Regions from separate parts of the Homo sapiens genome. Here region 1 is linked to region 2. The links are contacts of gene promoters, found by promoter capture Hi-C in blood cells and fetal thymus (Javierre and others, 2016). All regions are on one chromosome and are shown on one strand. Each heading gives the region's core, a stretch centred on a gene start or on the middle of the fragment in contact. The rest is flanking DNA. Distances are from core to core; before and after follow the strand shown.

Region 1 (4,821 bases), core at 644-3,143, 530 kb before region 2:
TGTACTTTGACCAGTGAAAAGTGGAATTATCTATCACCTGCCTCATTCTACGTGCACTGGCTCACATTCAGCCTATTGGAACACTGTTTTTCCAAACCTGCTGCAGTTAATTTACATTTTCTCCATCCCATACTAGTACAATTGCCTTGTAAGTCTTTTTAAAATATATATACTTTATTGCATGCATTTTGGGAGTGGGCAGGCCTGGGAAGGAAGCAAGCAGGGAACACACTGCAGTAATAGGAGTTTTAAGTCTTAATGCAATAAACTGAAAGGCCTGATTAACTACCCTTACTCTCCTAAGATGTACACCACCATAGAGTCTATAATACAATCGGGTTACTTTTTGAGTTATATTTCAGTCCCAAGGAGACATTCTCACTACCTGCCTTGGATGCTGGTGATACTTAAATCCTATCACTAATGCACTGAAAAACACCTAATAGGGTGAGTTTAGACTTATTAATTTCACTCATTTCAACAAACATCCAGTGAGTGCTTAAGACACTGTACTGATCAGTGAGATCAATAAAACCAAGATGTGAACTAATCAGAAGACTTTATGGCCTACCACCTTCTGCTGGGATTACCTTACTGAAGGACCCCTTCATCTAACTACCTTTATCTGACACTTGATTTCAACCCGCAGAACTCCATATAATGCTGTGTTTTATAAAGAAAGCCTAGGTGTTAATTATTTCTACACCCTTTCAATCCCTTTTCCCCTTTGGGGGCCACCCTAAGTGCTAGGTAAATGTTTAATGAATAAATGCACCAAACTGCCACTACCACATACAATATACCTGCAGGCAAACACCTGTAAGAGGGCTTTTATTCCCTGCATCACTGAAAATATTAAGTGGCAATAACTATTTTTTAATATTATTATTATACTTTAAGTTCTAGGATATATGTGCACAACGTGCAGGTTTGTTACATAGGTATACGTGTGCCATGCTGGTTTGCTGTACCCATCAACTCGTCATTTACATTAGGTATTTCTCCTAATGCTATCCCTCCCCTAGCGCCCCCAGCCCCCGACAGGCCCCGGTGTGTGATGTTCCCCGAAGTGGCAGTAACTCTTAAGCGTAACCGCAAACAAAAGTGAATTCACAAAGGCATAAGGCACAAGACACACACGGTAAGATTAGACAACTCTTTACCACATGGACAATAAATTACACAAACAATAAAGACAGATTCAGCGATGCACACTTAAGATGAAGAAATGGTGAAGAGGAACTTAAATACCAAAACAATTAAAATTATAATTTCCCCACGCACATTCTTATGTCACTTAAACCTACCCAGGGGACAGCTCCCACATAAGAGAGGGCTGGGGGCTCCCAAGTGCGGAATCCTCAGCAGAAACCCCGCAGGGCCGTTGGCGCTCCGCCGCCTCGCCACGCCCCCGCACAAGCCGCTCACTCCTCCAACGCCCACCCCCCTGGGAAACCCCTGGAGGCCTCGGCTCCGACGCAGCGAGGGCAGAGCGCTTCGAAGAAAGACAGGGCAAGGGGGAGGCAAGTGGGCGGGGAACGAGCCTATCCCGACCCCGCAAGTCCACTCCTACAGAAGAGCGGCGACAAGCAATCCCGGGCTCAGAATGCCGCCCACGAGGGTCCCGGGCCTGGGCCCCAAGGGCCAAGCAAGCCGACCCCCGCCCCTTCCTCAAGCCGTTAGCGCCGCGGCCCCACCCCTCGTGGCCGGCCGCGCCCCGCCCCGTTCGCCCCATGCCGCTACCCCAGCTGGTCGTGGCGCCGGGCACCTTCTAGCTGGAGTGGGCCCGGAGCTGCCGGCCGCGTCCGGAAGACCGAGGAACCGGGCTTCCATACCTGCACTTTCCTCCGCCCTGCTGTGTTCTGCCGGTGATGGGCCGCCATCTTGCATGTTGACACTCCGACGTCACTTCCGGAGGTGGCTCAGAGCGGGAGGATGTCCTGCCCCTTTCCCTTTGGCCAAGGGTTAGTGGCGGGGCTGAAGGTAAACAGGCTGTTGTGTTTCCTCGGTGCTGTTAGTTGCTGTGTGGCCGGTAGCCATGTGATGAGGTAGATGCACCTAAAAACAAAACCACTGTGCAAGTATAATGCTGATGGGGAGAGAGCCACTTTTCAGGGCTGAGGGAGCAACACGAATTCACTTGTGTGGTCCTAGACCCTGGCTTGCGCTCTTTTCCGCGCCCTCCCCGAGAGGCCCAAGCAAAACGAAAGCACTGAAAGAATTAACAGTGCTAGACATGGCGCTGGACCATCTCCTGACCTTTCCTAGGCAGGCAGGAGAACCAAGTGAACCAAGTGATTTACTGTTAAGTACCTAAAAATGCGGAGAATTATGTCGTGGCCTCAAAGGGGGAGAGATAGAAGTCCTTGCAAAGGAGGTGGCCTCCATCTTCAGGGGGAGCAAAGAATCCGTTTAAATTAAAAGGATAAAAAGTGGGGCCATAAAAGAACGAGATCATGTCCTTTGTAGGGACATGATGGAGCTGGAGGCCCTTATCCTTAAGCAAACTAACAAAGGAACAGAAAACCAAATACCGCACGTTCTCACTTATAAGTGGGAGCTAAATGATGAGAACACATGGACACAAAAGAGGGGGACAACACACACTGGGGCCTTTCGGAGGGTGGAGGGTGGGAGGAGGGCGAGGATCAGGAAAAATAACTAATGGGTACTAGGCTTAATACCTGGGTGACAAAATAGCCTGTACAACAAACACCCGTGACACAAGTTTACCTATATAACAAACCTGCACTTGTACCCCTGAACTTAAAAGTTTAAAAAAAAAAAACAAGACAAAAAGATGTTATAGGAAGGCGAAAACGGTACACCAGCTAAAATTGTTCCCAGAGACAATTCTAGTTTAAATCATCTCTTATACTGGAACAGTTAGGTTTGACTTAAGGTGGTTTTCCTGACCACTAATTATAAGAGCTGAGGGTGATCAGACCCTCTCTAGTGAAAGTGAATCCTATAGAACTACACTGTGGGATATAGCATATGATGTATCTGCTAGTCATTTGTGGCTCTTGAGCACTTGAAATATAGCTAGTTCCAGTTGAGATATGTAATTGTAAACTACCCCCAAATTTCAAAGACTAGTTTGAAGAAAAGAATGTAAAATATCTCATTAATAATTTTTTGTATTGATTTCATGTTGAAATGATGTTTGGGGGTATATTAGGCTAAATAAAATTTATTAATTTTGTCATGGATATTAGAATATTTAAAATTACATATGTGGTCACAAATTTCTGTTGCATAGTGCTAGTATATAAGTAATGCTTAGAAAAGTTGTCTTGACAAATACTTCTTAAATTAATAAAGAAATGTGAATTAGATGAGTAAAAATTGTGATGGCAGAAAGCTTCTTAAGCAAAACTGGCAGTGATAACTTATAGGTAAATTACTGCATCATTACAGGCTTATTCATTCACTGATTCATGTATTCATTCATTTAACAAAATATTATTTAGCATATCATATATGCCAGGCACTATATTAGGTGTTGGGGAATCAGTGGTGAGTGCACATAGTCATAGAACTTAGAGTCCCAGGATGAGACAGGAATTAATACAGAGATAAGTACTATGAAGAAAGATGATTGTAAGACAGGAAGTATCTTGAGTCAAGAGTTAACTAGGCAAGGAGAGGGAACAGTCTGAGCAAAGGTCTTGTAGCAGGAGAGAGCATGGAACATTACAGGAACTGAGAGTCAAGGCTTAGAGTACAGAGAAGTGAAAGGAGTATGCAGAGGCCATACCCAGCAGGATCTTTTAGACCAATGGGAAGCTGTTGAAATACAGGTAGGGAAATAATATGTCTGTATTTTAAAAATTGCTTAAGTGTCTATTGAGCACCTATGATGTGCAAAATACAATACAGGTATGTTGCTCTGGACAATATACTGGTACTTGCTAGAAATTGATATGTTGTAGTCCTGCTTTGGACCTGAAAAATATTGAAATAGTGAAGTTCTTTCAGTGGGCAGAATTTTCACCAGTATGTTTTGATGTTCAGTTTGGCTGAAAGGAGAAATGGTCAATTCAGGGTCAGAGGATAATTTTTTGGCCAGTTTGTGAAGGACATGGAAAGAGCAAGACTGGAGAACTAGTGACAAGGAAGACTCCAGAAGGGATATAGTGATGGACCTCTCAGAATAAATCTTAAGAATCATATGGATGAAATGAACTGCTTTGTGATGAAACTCAGCCTCACTGCCTGCTCAGTAGAATCATGAAATAAATGGCAATGGCAATGGCAACAGGATTGGAGCTATGCATGGGATCACCAAGCCACCGCTGGGTGTTCAGAAGCAGTGACCAATACCCCATGCTCTGGGAGGGTCAGCCAGTCACATGTAGGCAAGTCTATTCCATTGGTCATTGGCCCTCCCCATCATTGAGGGAGTTCTTATTTGTCCTCTCTAAAATATGTTTATTCTAGATTGAGATTTGCTTTCCCTGCTCACTGTACTTCCGCTGACACCACCATCTAGGGAATTACTCAGTGCTTTAGACACTATCATTTTCTCTAACACTATATTGCTTTTGACCAAGAAATTCACTCTGCAATGAAAGAAGTAATGCAATGGGCTATTGCCCATGGAATTTATTGGTCTAATTGTGTACTCAATCACTGAGAAGTATCTTGTCTTATTGAAGATATATTGAAGACTTAGCTATGGTGCCTTCTGGGAGATAACCCTTTTTGATACTGTCCTGTAGGATGCAGTATATGCTCTGAACTACTGTCCAATATTCAGCACTCTTTTTTCCTGTTCCTTTTATCTATTGCTGTTTAACCATCTGCAAAATGCAATGG
Region 2 (4,712 bases), core at 631-3,130:
ATCTCTTTTCTGATTCAGTCTGCTTTGTTCTTAGGAAGCAAACATCTTTAATCTGTCTAATATAGGGACAGGTCCTAGTTGGGTATTCAGAAAAACACACCGTTTCTTCCTTGAATTTAAGACAATTTTTTAAAACAACATCAATCGTAAAATATTTTAGAGCTGTCTCTTTAAAGACAACTCAATCTACATAATAAATTTTTCCTACTTTTGGAAAAATTGGGAGACTTCCAGAAATGTTTCTAAACACTACTAGAGGTTTGGTGGACTGGAAGCCCAGAGACCTGGTCAAACCTGGCTTTGCCACTAAGCTGCAAGTCGCGTCCACCCATTTCTTGTTTCTTCATTTACAAAATACGTAACAGCCATCCCCGTGGGTGGATTGCTATTTTGTATTTTATAAATGCCTCTCTCATAGAATTGTTATGAAGATACAATGACATGTTAGTTAAAAATTTTTCAAAATCTACAAGATCTATGTAAAAAGCTATTTTGTAGTGGACATCATTCAAAAGATACAACGGCATTTGGTACAAAAGATGGTTTTACAGAGGGATGGGGGCGGGGGAAACGTATAATCAAGCAAGATTAGACTAGTTACAGGTCAGCAATGGGGTTTCAGGAGGAGAAAGCAACTTGGGCACAAATGATGTCTGTAACAAAGGACTCAAAGGCTTAACATAAACCAAGTCTAGTTAATCAGTGAGTCAGCAAACAACCCTTTTCATGTAAGATTTAGGTATAAAAATATTTTGCAAAGGAAACCCTTGCTGCTATTAAATTCCCAAGAAGCACTGAACTCTACTCAAGACTGTAGCAAAAATTGGAAGTCAACTGGGAGTTAACTAGAAAATACAATACATAAGCTGGCACTCATTCGCAACCTGAAGCTAGTTTTCTTATATACTGGCCTGAGCTTGTTTCCTTCCATCCAAGAGACAGAAATGACAATTTGCCACCACCACCTGTGCCACCCAGACCCAGAAGAGACCCAAAACAAACAATACCCATATTAAGCCTGCCATTTGTAAGGTCATACATACTGTAAATGTGCCTCCAATAAAATATTAAGCAGCATCAAGAGGAAAAAATATGTACCTGCTAGAATTAGATAGATATATTTGGTTACATTCCCCTGGTAAGACAAAAAAAGAAACTCCAAAAATAAAACTAGAGGGACAGATCAAGAGACCACGCCCTTAAAAAGTCATGCCGATCAAGTGAAAGAAAGAAACCATGGGAGTTTGATAAACAGGAAATCCGAACCTGAGGGGGGGAAGGAACATGAAAAGTGAGGGAGTCACAAAGTGTGGTAAAGTCAACAAGAATGTGGTCGCCCCCTGTGTTATCTATAGAGCCTCAGCAGATGCTTTTGTGGCAGCACAAACCCTGGAAGACGGTACTTCTCACACTGGGGTACCTGTTCCAGGCCAAAGGGTAGCAGCCTACTAAGTCACAGTAAAACAAGCACCCTCTTTCTAGGCTGTCAATGGTACTTGAAAATTTAGGGTGAGGGTAGGGAGACAACCAGTAAAATAATTTAACTTTCATTAAAACAAATAGATATGGAAATGAACAAAAGCTTTCCCTAAATATAAAGCAAGAGACTTAAAAAAAAATATTACTCCCATATCACTTCAAATGATGTCTCAAGACTCCTGAGGGCATTTTCAATTTCCTCCCCTTTAGGGTTAGTATAATGGAAGTTTGCAAAGTGCTGTTATAAAAGAACACAGATTGTTAAATATTTCTAACATTACCACCATCACTGAGTTCTAAAATCTGAAGCTCACTTTCTTGTCAGACCATTTATAATGTCCAAACCAGAATCTTCAGGTATGTTTCACTTGTCTGGAATCAACCTCTTCTTGAAACAGGAACATCAGAGAAAGCACAGGGATGACCTCAGCTATATAATAAAGGGGGTGATTCTGATTAGAACTGTCAGATGACTCACTTCTGATAAAATCACTGCTACGAATCTTCCCTTAGGCTCATATTCACTCAAGTTCTATGATGATGTGATCCTTTCCTACATATTCTAACAGACATTTCTGCCTGGCTATAAGGAATCCTCCTCTTGGCCCATTTTCTGTTATTTTTGCATGCTAGCAAGTATCACTTGTAACTCCTCTCTCCATCCACACCATCTTTTATTATCTGCTAACCTTAAGCTTTTGTATATGAACAGCACAGCAATTCATTTACTATAAACTTGAGCGCTTCAAAGAGTAACACTGTGAATGACTGGCAATTGTCAGACAGACCCATGTTTGGATACCCTCTTTGACAATTATAAGCTATATGCCTGAGACTTGATCCTTAAAGCCTTGATTTTCTTGTCTATAAAAGAAAATGGTCACTACTTTTTTTGTAAGGGTGTAGTGAAGATTGAATGAGATGCATATATAAAGCTACTTACATACTGCCTGGTATACCTGGCCCTCAAGAAATGCCAGTTCATTTGCTTTACTTCCCCCAAAGTAAAAACACATATATGCTTCATTGCCTGGACAGAAAACTAAATAAACCCTTTTATTGGGTACAACTTCCTAAAATAAGGTTCAGAGTATAGTTGTAAGCAAGCAGTAAATATTAAATGGCTAGATCTGAGAAAACAAAACACTTTCCAAGCACTCTGAATTGCCGTACGTAATTGCAAGACATTGCCTTGAAAGTGGGAATTCATGATTCAAATTATTCGTTGCTTGAGAGAAACAGACCAGTCTCCAGCACTGGGCAATGCTGTGTCCCCTTTCCCAGAATAATTAAAGGACATCATTTTATCTATATTTGTTTTATAATTAATTGCCTACTTTTCAAAGGCCCTGCTTGCTAGAAAATTATCTTGAAGTTCTTGCCTAAACTTTTTAGCTGGTCATTTGAAGTTTCTGCCACCAGGCCCCAAACTTTCCTTTTATTTTTGTCTCCTTCCCTACATGAACGCTCTAACTTAACTGTTTTCTCAGCATATATCCTATCGCTTCTCATCTCTTCACCTTGCCTAGGTAGACCTCCCACATCTCTATTTCTTAACCAAATTCTCCCAAGTTTATAGATACATGTGTGTGTGCATATATATAAAAATTTGGGCCCAATTAAATTCTTGGCAAGAATTTCAAGATAATTTTTCAAATTTATTTTACTAACAAACTATATTTTGCTTTCATCTAACAGATACACCAAAGATTTTTAGGTTTAAAATTCTACCTGAAATAAAGTTTGACTTGAAATATAATGCCAAAACTAATAAAAGCAGTATTATTATGGAGATATTTGTTAGTGAAAAACATAAATATATAAAAGTAGATGTCAGTTTGATATGCTTCTGAGAAAACTGAAAAACCATATGCTCCTCCAGAAATATGGATTCGTGAAGTCAATATTCAACTTTACATATACATACACAATGTACAAACACAGTGAACTGCTTTCCTAATGACCAGTGTCTGTCAATCCCTGTTTTGAAATACAAGAACACAGAAAGCAGAGGAGAAAGGCCTTCTCAACAGTGAGCCACTAAAGGCAATGGAATCCATATACTACGAGCTTTGGGGCTCTCTCCATCCACTACAAAAGGCTAAAAATAAATGTGGTGAACACACCTGACAAACCAAACAGCAGAGCAAGCACTCAAGAATCAATCTGAATTGCTGTCCAGATCTTGGTTTCTAAACATCAATCCCCACTAAAAGGATCCAGTGCTCCTTGGAGAAATGGCCGATGGCCAAGATGAACATGGAACATAGCCTTATACCAGAAAGTAGGAAATGCTAAAAAATGATGAGGATGCATCAAAAGGACACAGGAGACACTGGAAGGAGCTCCCACTGGCTAAATCTGGGGCAATTTGAGCATCAAAATGAACAATCACAGTAAACATTAAAACTCTTTGAATAAAAATAAATCTGTGAGTCTACATTGATAACAAGGAAAAGCTCTAACAGTGGAATGTCAACTAATAAATTAAGGAGTAAGAATTAGAAAGTCATCATTTAGCAACTAACATAGTAATAACTAATTCAGGCAGGAAATATCAATGGATGCTAAAACTATTGAGTGAAAGTTCGAAGACGAAAAAGATGCTTACATCGCCTCAAAGTATTTCCACAGATTACTTATAAATTCCAAAGGGGGAAATGGTGAAAAAACCTGGTAGACACCACCTTAACCAAGTAAAGTTAAAATCATCAATAATCAGACAAACTGATATTATGCACCTCCTGATGCAATGCACTGAGAAGGACACAAGATCACTGCTCCTACATTCTGCCAAAAACATAATGAATCATGAGCAAACAACAGACAAACCCAAAGGAGGGACATACTGTAAAACAACTGGCCCGTACTATTCAAAAATATCAAAGTCATTCAAGACAAAAGGCTGAGTCAGAAGCTAGTTCAGATTAAAGGAGACTACAGAGACATGACAACTAAATGCAATGCTCAATCCTGGTTGGATACTGAATCAGAAAAAAAAAACAGTATAAAGGATAGTATTGGGTAATTTGTAAAATTTCAATATGGACTAAATATTAGGTAGTATTTCTATATGTTTTTTCACGAATTTGATAATTATTCTGTGGTTACATGACAGAATGCTTAGGAGGAAAGGAACAAGATATCTGCAACTAACTCAAATGGTTCAGAAAACAAAAACAGGTGTATGCCTATCTATATGGGGGAGCATAAATGTGGCAAAATGTTAACAA

The links. Contacts are between HindIII fragments. The CHiCAGO score rates a contact against its expected background, and 5 or more counts as called.
Region 1: the fragment with the promoter of WDR48 here is called in contact with a fragment that was not itself captured in region 2 in 8 of 17 cell types (total CD8 T cells, naive B cells, M1 macrophages and 5 more); the score reaches 8.7 in total CD8 T cells.

Annotation. Positions count from the first base shown.
Region 1 is chr3:39,049,088-39,053,908 of GRCh38, reverse strand. WDR48 (WD repeat domain 48) reads right to left here and starts at 1,893. Exons shown (of 19, transcript NM_020839.4): 1 at 1,836-1,893. The coding sequence starts at 1,883. SCN11A (sodium voltage-gated channel alpha subunit 11) reads left to right here and starts at 1,965. Exons shown (of 30, transcript NM_001349253.2): 1 at 1,965-2,048. RefSeq lists a silencer at 1,690-1,789 and enhancers at 1,830-2,019, 2,040-2,089, 2,100-2,189, 1,860-2,732. The HindIII fragment of the contact is 5,994 bases long and covers 1-3,366 here.
Region 2 is chr3:38,516,459-38,521,170 of GRCh38, reverse strand. The region is part of intron 5 of EXOG (exo/endonuclease G); the gene reads right to left. Among named protein-coding and RNA genes, the nearest start is that of EXOG, 22 kb to the right of the region's middle. The HindIII fragment of the contact is 592 bases long and covers 1,585-2,176 here.